Linked DNA regions of Homo sapiens: all the other regions are linked to region 1. The links are contacts of gene promoters, found by promoter capture Hi-C in blood cells and fetal thymus (Javierre and others, 2016). All regions are on one chromosome and are shown on one strand. Each heading gives the region's core, a stretch centred on a gene start or on the middle of the fragment in contact. The rest is flanking DNA. Distances are from core to core; before and after follow the strand shown.

The links. Contacts are between HindIII fragments. The CHiCAGO score rates a contact against its expected background, and 5 or more counts as called.
Region 2: a fragment that was not itself captured here is called in contact with the fragment with the promoter of UBQLNL in region 1 in 1 of 17 cell types (M0 macrophages); the score reaches 5.3 in M0 macrophages.
Region 3: a contact is called between a fragment that was not itself captured here and the fragment with the promoter of UBQLNL in region 1, in 4 of 17 cell types (M2 macrophages, neutrophils, fetal thymus and 1 more). The highest score is 6.3, in M2 macrophages.
Region 4: a contact is called between the fragment with the promoter of OR52E8 here and the fragment with the promoter of UBQLNL in region 1, in 8 of 17 cell types (M1 macrophages, M2 macrophages, M0 macrophages and 5 more). The highest score is 8.6, in M1 macrophages.

The regions. Positions count from the first base shown.
Region 1 is chr11:5,515,277-5,517,976 of GRCh38, reverse strand. It overlaps UBQLNL (ubiquilin like), which reads left to right and starts at 1,278. Exons shown (of 1, transcript NM_145053.5): 1 at 1,278-2,700. The coding sequence starts at 1,536. The HindIII fragment of the contact is 7,757 bases long and covers 1-2,700 here.
Region 2 is chr11:5,900,703-5,903,541 of GRCh38, reverse strand. OR52E5 (olfactory receptor family 52 subfamily E member 5) reads right to left here. Exons shown (of 3, transcript NM_001005166.5): 3 at 812-2,839. The coding sequence starts at 2,765. The coding sequence ends at 1,782. All of the region lies in intron 2 of LOC112268071 (a long non-coding RNA gene), which reads left to right. Among named protein-coding and RNA genes, the nearest start is that of OR52E5, 8.9 kb to the right of the region's middle. The HindIII fragment of the contact is 580 bases long and covers 1,259-1,838 here.
Region 3 is chr11:5,799,710-5,802,409 of GRCh38, reverse strand. It overlaps the pseudogene OR52N3P. Among named protein-coding and RNA genes, the nearest start is that of OR52N2, 7.9 kb to the left of the region's middle. The HindIII fragment of the contact is 3,367 bases long and covers 1-2,700 here.
Region 4 is chr11:5,856,381-5,859,189 of GRCh38, reverse strand. It overlaps OR52E8 (olfactory receptor family 52 subfamily E member 8), which reads left to right and starts at 1,500. Exons shown (of 1, transcript NM_001005168.3): 1 at 1,500-2,441. The coding sequence starts at 1,500. The coding sequence ends at 2,441. The HindIII fragment of the contact is 1,911 bases long and covers 633-2,543 here.

The sequences.
Region 1 (2,700 bases), core at 29-2,528:
GTCTGGTAATCAATTTTTCATTGTCCTGGATCGATCTCACTTTTGAGTGCAATTGCAAGAGAATAGGCCTGAGTCTTGCTGTAGTAAGTTAGCAACTGGCCTTATAGCATGATGAGGATCTGACATGGATGGTGCTGGGGGTCTAGATATTCTCAATAAAGAATCATTGGTTTGATAGCAGAAGGTCTCCTGGCCAACGGCCTATCATCCCTTTGCTTGTCTTCAACACACTGGGAACATATGGGCTCGAGCTTTTTGCTTGTTCCTTAGCTATCTGTGTGGTGCTCCTCCCTCTCCAGGCAGGTGGATGGAATATATAAAATCCAGACCCTGAAGGCTTCCTAGTAACACAGAATATGCATACAATTTCATATATACATTCGATAAGACATGTACACTCTCACTCATATAAATAATTATTTCCATCTGCATCTAAATAAAAACCAAACACAATTCTCCAAATTTACATGGGACCAAGAATCCAGCTTTTTAGTTGCCTGTATTTGTCCCCTTAAGAATTTTACTACTAACCACCTCCTCTCCCACCTCTTGATTTACAGACGACATTCCCCCTTAATGCTTTGACATAAAGGTGGGCACACAAGAGTGGGTTAGGACATTGAAACAAATCATTCTAAAACTTCTGTTATATTGACATGTAGAAGAGACCAAGTGATATGTGAATAAAAGGCATATTATAAAAAAGAGCTAATTCACATTTAGTTTGGCATGTGCCTATGAAGAGCCTTCCTGGTTAGCCCTACTCCTGCTTCCTAGGACAGAGGAAAATTTTCCCCACCACATGGGAGCACAATTAAATATAGAATCCCAAAATCTAGACTCTATATAAGACCCAAATTTCCAGATCATTAAAAAAATTAATGCGCTCCTTCCTATGGGAGAGACTGCATTCTTATAGGAATGTGGCTTTATCTATGGCTTCAGTAGACCCAACTTTTCATACAAGTCTAACATCCCTATAAGGAACATACACACAGTATCACACGGAAACACACATCCCACATTTAAAAATATGGTTTTTATTTACTTTTTTGTTTTCTTACTAGTTCCATCCAGAGAACTTTGTCCCTGTTTTCTGGAAAATTATTTTATTTTATTGTAGAGCCCTGGACCCCTAAATATGTCCTCCTTCCCCAGCTGGCCCAGGGTGACTGCGAGGATAGAGTTGACATCACAATATCCCTTTTCTGAGGATTCATGCCCCTGGTGGGTGGGGTAGGAGGAGGGGTAGCCCTAGGAGAAGTCATCACCACTTTGTCCACCATGGGTGAATTATGAATCAGTAGCTATGCCAGGCCTCAGCTGGGCCACATCTGGAGAACTGGGGTGAGGGCACAACATCACAAAATATCTGGCCCCAGTCTGGTCACTCATCCCTTTTAGGGCAACAAGGAAACTATCCTGTGGCCTGAGAGCACAATACCTGAGACAAAGGCCAGCAGAAACATTTGTCTGCCCTCACCCTTTCTGCCCCAGCTTCCACCTGCTCCCCATCTGCCCACCCACTAAAGCCCATGTGGCATGCCATCTCTCGAACATCCAGGATGTCCCAGAGTGGATGTCCATCAGGTCTGCTGGCAGACAAAAATATCTCTTCAAGTGCCACTCGAGTGATAGTGAAGACTGCAGGCAACCAGAAAGACTTTATGGTAGCTGATGACATCTCGGTAAGGCAGTTCAAGGAGATGCTATTGGCTCACTTCCAATGCCAGATGGACCAACTAGTGCTGGTCTTCATGGGTTGCCTTCTCAAAGACCATGACACACTGAGCCAGAGGGGCATCATGGATGGCCACACCATCTACTTGGTCATCAAGTCCAAGCAGGGCTCCAGATCTCTAGCCCATTCCTTCCGGGACCTGCCAACGAATGATCCCTGCCACCGGGACAGAAACACCAAAGGAAACAGCAGCAGAGTGCACCAACCAACTGGTATGAATCAAGCTCCAGTGGAACTGGCCCACTTTGTGGGGTCTGATGCACCCAAAGTGCATACCCAAAACTTGGAAGTGAGCCACCCAGAGTGCAAAGCACAGATGCTGGAGAATCCTAGCATCCAGCGGCTTCTGTCCAACATGGAGTTCATGTGGCAGTTCATTTCAGAACATCTAGACACGCAACAATTGATGCAGCAGAACCCAGAAGTTTCCCGCCTTCTTCTTGATAATTCTGAGATCCTATTGCAGACTCTGGAGCTGGCCAGGAACCTTGCTATGATCCAAGAGATAATGCAGATCCAACAACCTTCACAAAACCTTGAGTATCCACTGAACCCACAGCCATATCTGGGCTTAGAGACAATGCCAGGTGGGAATAATGCCCTGGGTCAGAACTATGCTGATATCAATGATCAAATGCTGAACAGCATGCAAGATCCTTTTGGAGGAAACCCTTTCACAGCTCTCCTGGCAGGACAAGTGCTAGAACAAGTCCAGTCTTCACCCCCACCTCCACCACCATCACAGGAACAACAAGACCAGCTCACACAGCATCCTGCAACCCGAGTCATCTATAATAGCTCTGGTGGTTTCTCTTCAAACACCTCAGCCAATGACACCCTTAACAAGGTCAACCACACTTCCAAAGCCAACACTGCTATGATTTCCACCAAGGGCCAGAGCCATATCTGTGCCACTCGGCAGCCAGCTTGGATACCAGCCTTACCTAGCATAGAGCTTA
Region 2 (2,839 bases), core at 299-2,798, 390 kb before region 1:
CTTGCAGTATTGATGGCTTTGTACAAATTCAGTTAAAAAAAAAAAAAACTCTAGAGCTTGATAAACTCCCTAAACAACTTTCCTTTCTTGGGAATTCTATGTGCACACTGTGCTGTTTTCAAATATGCTCCTGGCTCCCATGTTACAGCCCCTGGAACATATACTTGGTAATGAATGGGGTTTTCTCTTCTGTATTAGCTTCTATGCTCCTTAGAAATTAAAGTTCTCTGTTACCCATTTCCATTCAGATTACTCACTTTCTGGAGCACGTGACATTTAGCAAAGTCTCAGAAATGATACAGGAAAACTCTTAGTCGAAGTTCTTAACGTATGATACCAAAATTAAGTGGTCTGGTGGTTTAACATATTTTGGGTAGAGTGAACAAAATTGAACATATTAGAGCCTTTAAATATACAAATGTAAATATTCAGGCTCTAAAATGAGATTTTCGTAGTTGAAATATTATATAATAATACATTAAATAAACTATAATTGAAAAGTGGTATTTTACTTAGAAGACACTCCACAATGAATTTTTTGTCATCTTTATTCCTTGTTAAATGATCTGTTTAGTTTTTTTTAAATTCTGTATCAATTTCAAAATATCTACTTAGAAAATGATTACTTGGTTACTTTTTCTTTATATATTTATATGACATATCACTTCAGTTTACTTCCACTTGTCAATTTATACTGTTATTTATATTGTTATTACTTTCGCACTATTCTCTGTACATTTCTGCTCATTCTACCTTGAGTTTCAATCAGGGCTCCATTTCCAATTAGGAGCCAACTTCACATTTTTGCAGCTCCTAGAATACCCAAAGAAATAAATTGTCCTATTTATCTTCTATACCTTATTAAGAATGACTTTATATTATTTCAGCAGCCACACTATTACAGTCTGCCCTAAAACCCACTCTAGCAAAGACTGTGGAGGATGGGATTTCCCTGAGTCCTTAAGCCCAAGACAGAAACCTGTTAACTCTTCAAGCTTTATAGTCTCCTGACTGAAAGTCTCTTTCACGAAGGTAAGAGCTGAGAGGTCCATGAAGAGGCCCATGCGTTGGGATAATCTGGATCTGGAGAGCTGACCTCAAACCAGGGATTGTATACTAGAGTGGATTAGTAAATGAAATCTACATACATTAGAAATAACAATTACACTATAATTATGTTTAGTAAGCACTCATTTTGTTTCCAAATCTTTTAATGTTTTACAAGCTGCACAGATTTTCACAACATTCACTTTAAGCTTCAATATCCCTGCTCATAAAATGCTATAAATCAGTATGAATTTGTTATTGTGAACTCAAAGAGTCTAAGTGAAATGCTCAGGTCAAAATTTTAGGTAAGGCCATAACCTGTATTTAAATCTAGATCTTATGACTCCTAGTTAATTTCTCTTGCCACTGTATCCTGCCTGGTTTTGATGAAATACCACATCATTTTAATCGTCATGAACTTCAGCTTTGGATATGTAAATACAGAGAATCTTCATGTGGAAAGGCTATTCAAGACAATTACTGGGCAATAACTTTTACAAAGCCTTTGTTTCTCTTTAGGCATTTTGTAGTATCATGGGGCTTAAGTGTGAGTACTTTTTGCACTTTTAATGGGTGAAACAGAGAGATTGTTTTGGAATCTTTGAGCTATAACTTCCAACAGACCGTACTGAAATCATGAGACGTTGTAGGGGATATAATGCTATTGGCTCATGTGGGAATGCAAGAGAAGTAGTAAAAAAAATGTTTCCAGTGTTTATTTTGTTATGATCTCATTATTGTCTAACTGAATTGTTGTGGAAGATCCTCTTGGGGTCAAAATGCCAAAAGCTTTTAGGGTTGAGTATCCTAAGTACCTGCTCTCGTATCTGTTTTGTTTTGACCCCATAGATAACAGAGTTAAGAGCAGGGGGAAAAACCACATACAGATTGGCCAGAAGAATGTGGATGTAATGAGGGATGTTGTGGCCAAAGCGGTGTGTCATGAAGGAAAAGAGGGCTGGCAGGTAGAAAGCCAACATAACACAGACGTGAGAGCCACATGTGCTGAGTGCCTTAGGCCGGGCATCCCAGGCTGGGAGATGGAAGACAGCTCGGAGGATCTGGACATAGGAAAATCCAATCACAGAAATGTCAATGTATCCCACTGAGAAGGCAATCAATCCATATATAACATTAATACTGGCACAAGCTAACTTTGCCAAGCCCATGTGTTCACAATAGGTATGAGGGATAATCCGGACACCACAGAAAGGCAATCTCAGGATGAGAAATGTGAATGGAGTCACAAATACCAAAGTCCTGACAATGATGACTATGCCCAGAATGGCTATTACCTTGTTGGTAAGGATCATGCTATATCTCAGGGGGTTGCAGATGGCAATATAGCGATCTATGCCCGTGACTGTCAGTACCACAGACTCCAGGCCAGTGCATATATGAATGGTATACATCTGTGTGATGCAGGCACCAAATGCAATCTCTCCAAGATTAAACCAGAAAATTCCCAGCATCTTGGGGATGGTTGCTGTAGACAAGCCCAGATCAGTGCCGGCCAACATGGCTAGGAAGTAAAACATGGGTTGGTGGAGGCTCTGTTCAGTCTGTATCACAAACAGGATAATGATGTTCCCTAGAAGGGCTGTTAGATACACTGCAAAGAAGGGGAAGCCAATCCATACATGCACATCTTCCAGCCCTGGGACCCCCACTACGAGGAAGGTGGAAGGGTGAAACTGTGTATTGTTGGTATGAAGCATATTGGTGGCCATTCCCTACAGACACATTTCTTGCATGAGTTTTCTTGCTTCCAGTGAGAAACCATAACTTCTTT
Region 3 (2,700 bases), core at 168-2,667, 280 kb before region 1:
TTCTCTTGGATTATGTTCTTAATATTTTTCTCACGTTTAATTCAATCTTGCTATTACTAAATACATTTATCCTTCTAATACTACCATGCACTTTATCTCTGCTATTTCCAGAAATCTAAATAAAGTATAGTGTTCCCACAGTATTCATGAGGGAGTGGTTACAGGACACGACCCATAATAAAATCTGTGGATGATCAAGTCCTTTATATAAAATGGTGTGGTGTTTTTATATAACCTACACACATCCTTTTGTGTATTTTAAATCATTTCTAGATTACTTATGATACCTAATGCAATGTGAATTCTATGTAAACAGTTGTTATATTGTATTATTTGTTTCTATCATTTTTATGGTTGTATTATTTTTTTCCAAGTATTTTTGATCTGCAGCTGGTTGAATCCCAGGGTGCAGAACCCACATATAAGGAGGGCCAACTGTACTACTTTCTCCATTGTCCTTGACCACTCTGCTGCTTCTCCATCTACATGAAACTCAGATCAGTCAGTCAAGCCCAGACATCTTTGATTGGCAAAGTATATAGATTTCTTCAAGTCTTCTTTCCTCTACATCTCTCCTGTCCTCAAACAACTCTCAAGTAGTATCCATTGAATCTTTCAAAATTGTTCTTGACATTAACTGCAAAGAGTATTTCCCCAATCGTTATCACTCTAGTAACCACATTTATTGCAGCTTCATTTTTGTGTGCACTGGAGCATTCATATAAATCCAAATACTTACCCAGGCAGCAGGATGTCAGAGATAAATGAGCAGGCAAAGATGTTTTTCTCTAAAGTTATACAAGTTTCACATAAATATAGACTAGAAAGGATAACAGGACATTTGAGATTCAGTCCATTCGACAGGTCTAACTAAAGTTAAGTTTTGTAAAATGTATAATTATGTCTTGTCTATTTTATGTCTTTTATCACATTGAAGTCTTGAATTAAACATTTTGTGATTATTTAATAAAATTTATGGCAGAATATTCACATTTTTTCCTGAGTTCATAGTTTTTGAATCTTACATTTATTCTCTTCCTCTATAACTTTATCTTTATGCTGATTCAGACTTCTATATCATAGATTTATGTCATACTTAAAATACCTTTCTCTCTAAAAAACAATTTGATCACTCCTTCACGGATCTGCTTGGTCTTCACTCCATAGACAATTGGATTTAAGGTGGGAGGCAGCATCAGGTAAAGGTTGGCTATAAAAATGTGAACATGATGAGGTATGGTGTGTCCCCCAAAGCGGTGAGTGAAGAAGTTGAAAAAGGCTGGGACATAAGTGATGAAAATAGCACATATATGTGCTGTACAGGTACTGAAGGCTTTGTGGCAGCATCTGCAGATGACAAATTCACTACAGCACGGATAATCATGGTGTAAGACATGGAGATACAGAACATGTCAAACCCCCCAATCAATATGGCAGCTATGAGACCATAGATGGCATTAATCTGGACATTACCACAGGATAATTTGGCCACAGACATATGTTAAAATAGGTGTGGTGGATGAGGTTGCCCCTGCAATAGGGAAGACACTTGATCAGGAAAGCAAATGGAATCATAAGCAACACACTTTGAATGAAGGTGACAAGCCCAACTTTGGTAATTACAGTGTTGGTGAAGATGGTGGAATAGTGTAGAGGGTAGCAAATGGCCACATAGCGGTCTAGAGCCATAAGCATGAGCGCCCCAGACTCCATGCCTGTCAGCATGTGGATGAAAAACATCTGCACAAGGCAGGCATTAAAGTCAATTTCCTTGAGGCCAAACCAAAAAATACATAACATATTGGGAACAAATGAGGTGCATCCAGTAACATCTGTAAGAGACAGCAAGTCTAGGAAGTAGTAGGTGGGTTGGTGCAGGGCCTCCTCATGGCTAATGAGGTATATAAGTCCACAGTTCCCCAAAACAACAATGATGTACATGAAGCAGAAAGGCAGGGAGATCCAGATGTGTGCAGCTTCCAGCCCAGGAACGCCACTGAGAATGAAATATCTTGGTGTCAGGCTGGAGCTGTTGGCTCCATTCATGATGCTCACCAATTACAAAACATGCTAGTTTTTGTGCCAATAAAGTTGTCCTGTATAAGGAGAGAGTAGTGAGATTATTTTCATCCAGAGAAAAAAATATAAAAACGCATTTTTCACAATCTAAATAATAAATTTAGGAAAAAATAATCATTTTGTATCCAAACTATGTTTTTTGATTCTATTGAATGGTCCTATGACTGTAACTGAACCAACAGAATAAAAACATATTGTAAACATAGTGCCAAAGCCCTGGCCTGGCTTGGTTTTCTACTGGAAACTCTGTTTATATGTGTCTGCTTACATTCCTGGGCCATTTAGTAATGCTTGACTTTGCAACCTCAACCAATTTCCAAATTATAAACTCTATTTAAGTAACATTGATTTTCTTAATTCACTACAAACTATCCCTTCTTTCAAGAAATACTTTGAGATGTGTCCACTGGGTTATAGTTAATCAAATTATGTCAGCACCTACCAATTATGCACTTCTATTATGATTCAGCTTGATCTATATACAAGTGTAAACCTGGCAGGTCTGGATTTTCCAAGTCAGAAAAATCAAGGACAGAGATGGGAAGGGCCAAAAAGGTACATAATAAGTTACAATTTATAAATCATGGCCATGTGTATTTTGTATTCGTCTCTTTTTGTATT
Region 4 (2,809 bases), core at 251-2,750, 340 kb before region 1:
TAAAGTAGAACTTGCTGACATTCACACACTTTTATCTCTGCTGCGTACGTCTCAATTCTGACTTCCCCCAATGTTCAAGTATTCTTAAATTGTAATCAATGCTTTTTGTGTAGTTGCCACGTCACATTTAACCAATTCCGCATTATCTGTAAAACTAGTTTTTCCCAAGTAAAAGTAAGTTGCGCAGTAATGAACTTTTTGCTTCAAATTTTGAATTTACTATCTGTAAATTCAGGATTTACTATCCGTAAATTCAGGATTTACTATCTGTAAATTCAGGATTTACTATATTGGAGACATCCATAGAGACAAAACAGCTGGGATAGAATTTGAGTAGCAGCTAAACTGTAGGTCATCCAAAGGGCTTCTACTTTCTTCCCATGAATATAAGACTGAGATATATTTGAAAATTTTGTAGCCCAGAATATTTAGTTTCCTTGCCACAGAAAAAGCTGGCCTATATATAAACAGTTTCTTTACTGAATGCGTGTATTTATGCACTCTCCAAATAATAGGATTATCTAGATTAAAATTATCTCTTCATCCATGTTCCATCATAGCTGCAAAATACTCTTTGTCAAGTATTTTCTTTTCCTTGTTTTTACCCATTTTCCAAATCCGATGGATAAGCTTCTTTTCTCAAACACAGGTGTGATGGAAACTAAATTATTTATTTCCTAAAATATGACATTAAAATTACCCACAGTTTTGCCTCCTTGTAATCAATGTCTATTTGTGGAGGTTTTAAATTGAGAACTATTATGTAGCAGATCTTTTTCCTGCATATGAGCAAGATAAATTGTTTCTTCTCTCAGAAGTATACAGTCTAGTAGTCACAAATTGTATACAGTATACACAGTCTAAATTGTATACAGAAGTATACAGTCTAGTAGTCACAAACTGTATACAGTATATACAGCCTAAATTGTATACAGAAGTATACAGTCTAGTAGTCCCAAATTGTATACAGTATAGTCTAAATTGTATATAGAAGTATACAGTCTAGTAGTCACAAATACCTGTAAAAATGCATAACAACACAGAAACGGTTTTACACACTACATTTTTGATTCCCAAATAGAGGAATAGTTGAGATTACAAATACCTTGATCGTGAAGCAAAAATATGTGTAACATTTCTATAGACACTGACCCTGGAACTTTATTTTTCTCATTTAGTTCTGGCTAAATTCCAGATTTTGCATTTTTATTTGGCAGATGACATTCTTCTGCCATTTCTTTTTATATTAGTCTTTGATATTAGGTGAAGGGGCAGTAGAATAAGACTGGTTCTATTCCTGGTACCAATGTTGCTCAGGAGAGGCTAGGAGAAATTGTGGAGAGTATTTTACCTTACTCATGAATATATATAAAGAAAGATTAATATGTTATTGTGAATTTGACTAGAAATCTGAACAAAAGAAGAAGTGGAACAAGAATTACTAATAGGAATATTATAATCGTCGCTGGTGTGCCCAGCAGCTTTATATGGCAGGAAGAATGTCTACGTCTAATCACACCCAGTTCCATCCTTCTTCATTCCTACTGCTGGGTATCCCAGGGCTAGAAGATGTGCACATTTGGATTGGAGTCCCTTTTTTCTTTGTGTATCTTGTTGCACTCCTGGGAAACACTGCTCTCTTGTTTGTGATCCAGACTGAGCAGAGTCTCCATGAGCCTATGTACTACTTCCTGGCCATGTTGGATTCCATTGACCTGGGCTTGTCTACAGCCACCATCCCCAAAATGTTGGGCATCTTCTGGTTCAATACCAAAGAAATATCTTTTGGAGGCTGCCTTTCTCACATGTTCTTCATCCATTTCTTCACTGCTATGGAGAGCATTGTGTTGGTGGCCATGGCCTTTGACCGCTACATTGCCATTTGCAAACCTCTTCGGTACACCATGATCCTCACCAGCAAAATCATCAGCCTCATTGCAGGCATTGCTGTCCTGAGGAGCCTGTACATGGTTGTTCCACTGGTGTTTCTCCTTCTGAGGCTGCCCTTCTGTGGGCATCGTATCATCCCTCATACTTATTGTGAGCACATGGGCATTGCCCGTCTGGCCTGTGCCAGCATCAAAGTCAACATTAGGTTTGGCCTTGGCAACATATCTCTCTTGTTACTGGATGTTATCCTTATTATTCTCTCCTATGTCAGGATCCTGTATGCTGTCTTCTGCCTGCCCTCCTGGGAAGCTCGACTCAAAGCTCTCAACACCTGTGGTTCTCATATTGGTGTTATCTTAGCCTTTTTTACACCAGCATTTTTTTCATTCTTGACACATCGTTTTGGCCATAATATCCCACAGTATATACATATTATATTAGCCAACCTGTATGTGGTTGTCCCACCAGCCCTCAATCCTGTAATCTATGGAGTCAGGACAAAGCAGATTCGAGAGAGAGTGCTGAGGATTTTTCTCAAGACCAATCACTAACCAGTTGGAGGTTGGAGAGTCTGTCACTCTAACCTAATAGAAAGCAGAAAAACAGAAGGGAATGCTGCAGCCAATAACATTATTTATCTGTTAACTGAAGCTTTTGACTTTAATTATAATAATGAGAATTTTACCCTTGTCGAACTCTCCTTTTCCAAGTTCTTTTATTTCTATTGCTGGATCCTCAAGGCAGTTTTATAAAGTATGTATTAGTTTTTCCATTCTTGTGATTAATATACTTATGTTCGGAAAAGTTGAGTGATTTACTCAAACTACATGTTTAATAGGAAGTAGTAATTTAAGCCAAATAGACTGCCTTATAGTTTTCTTTAGTATGTTTAAGAAATAACAGAATACGGAATAAAATT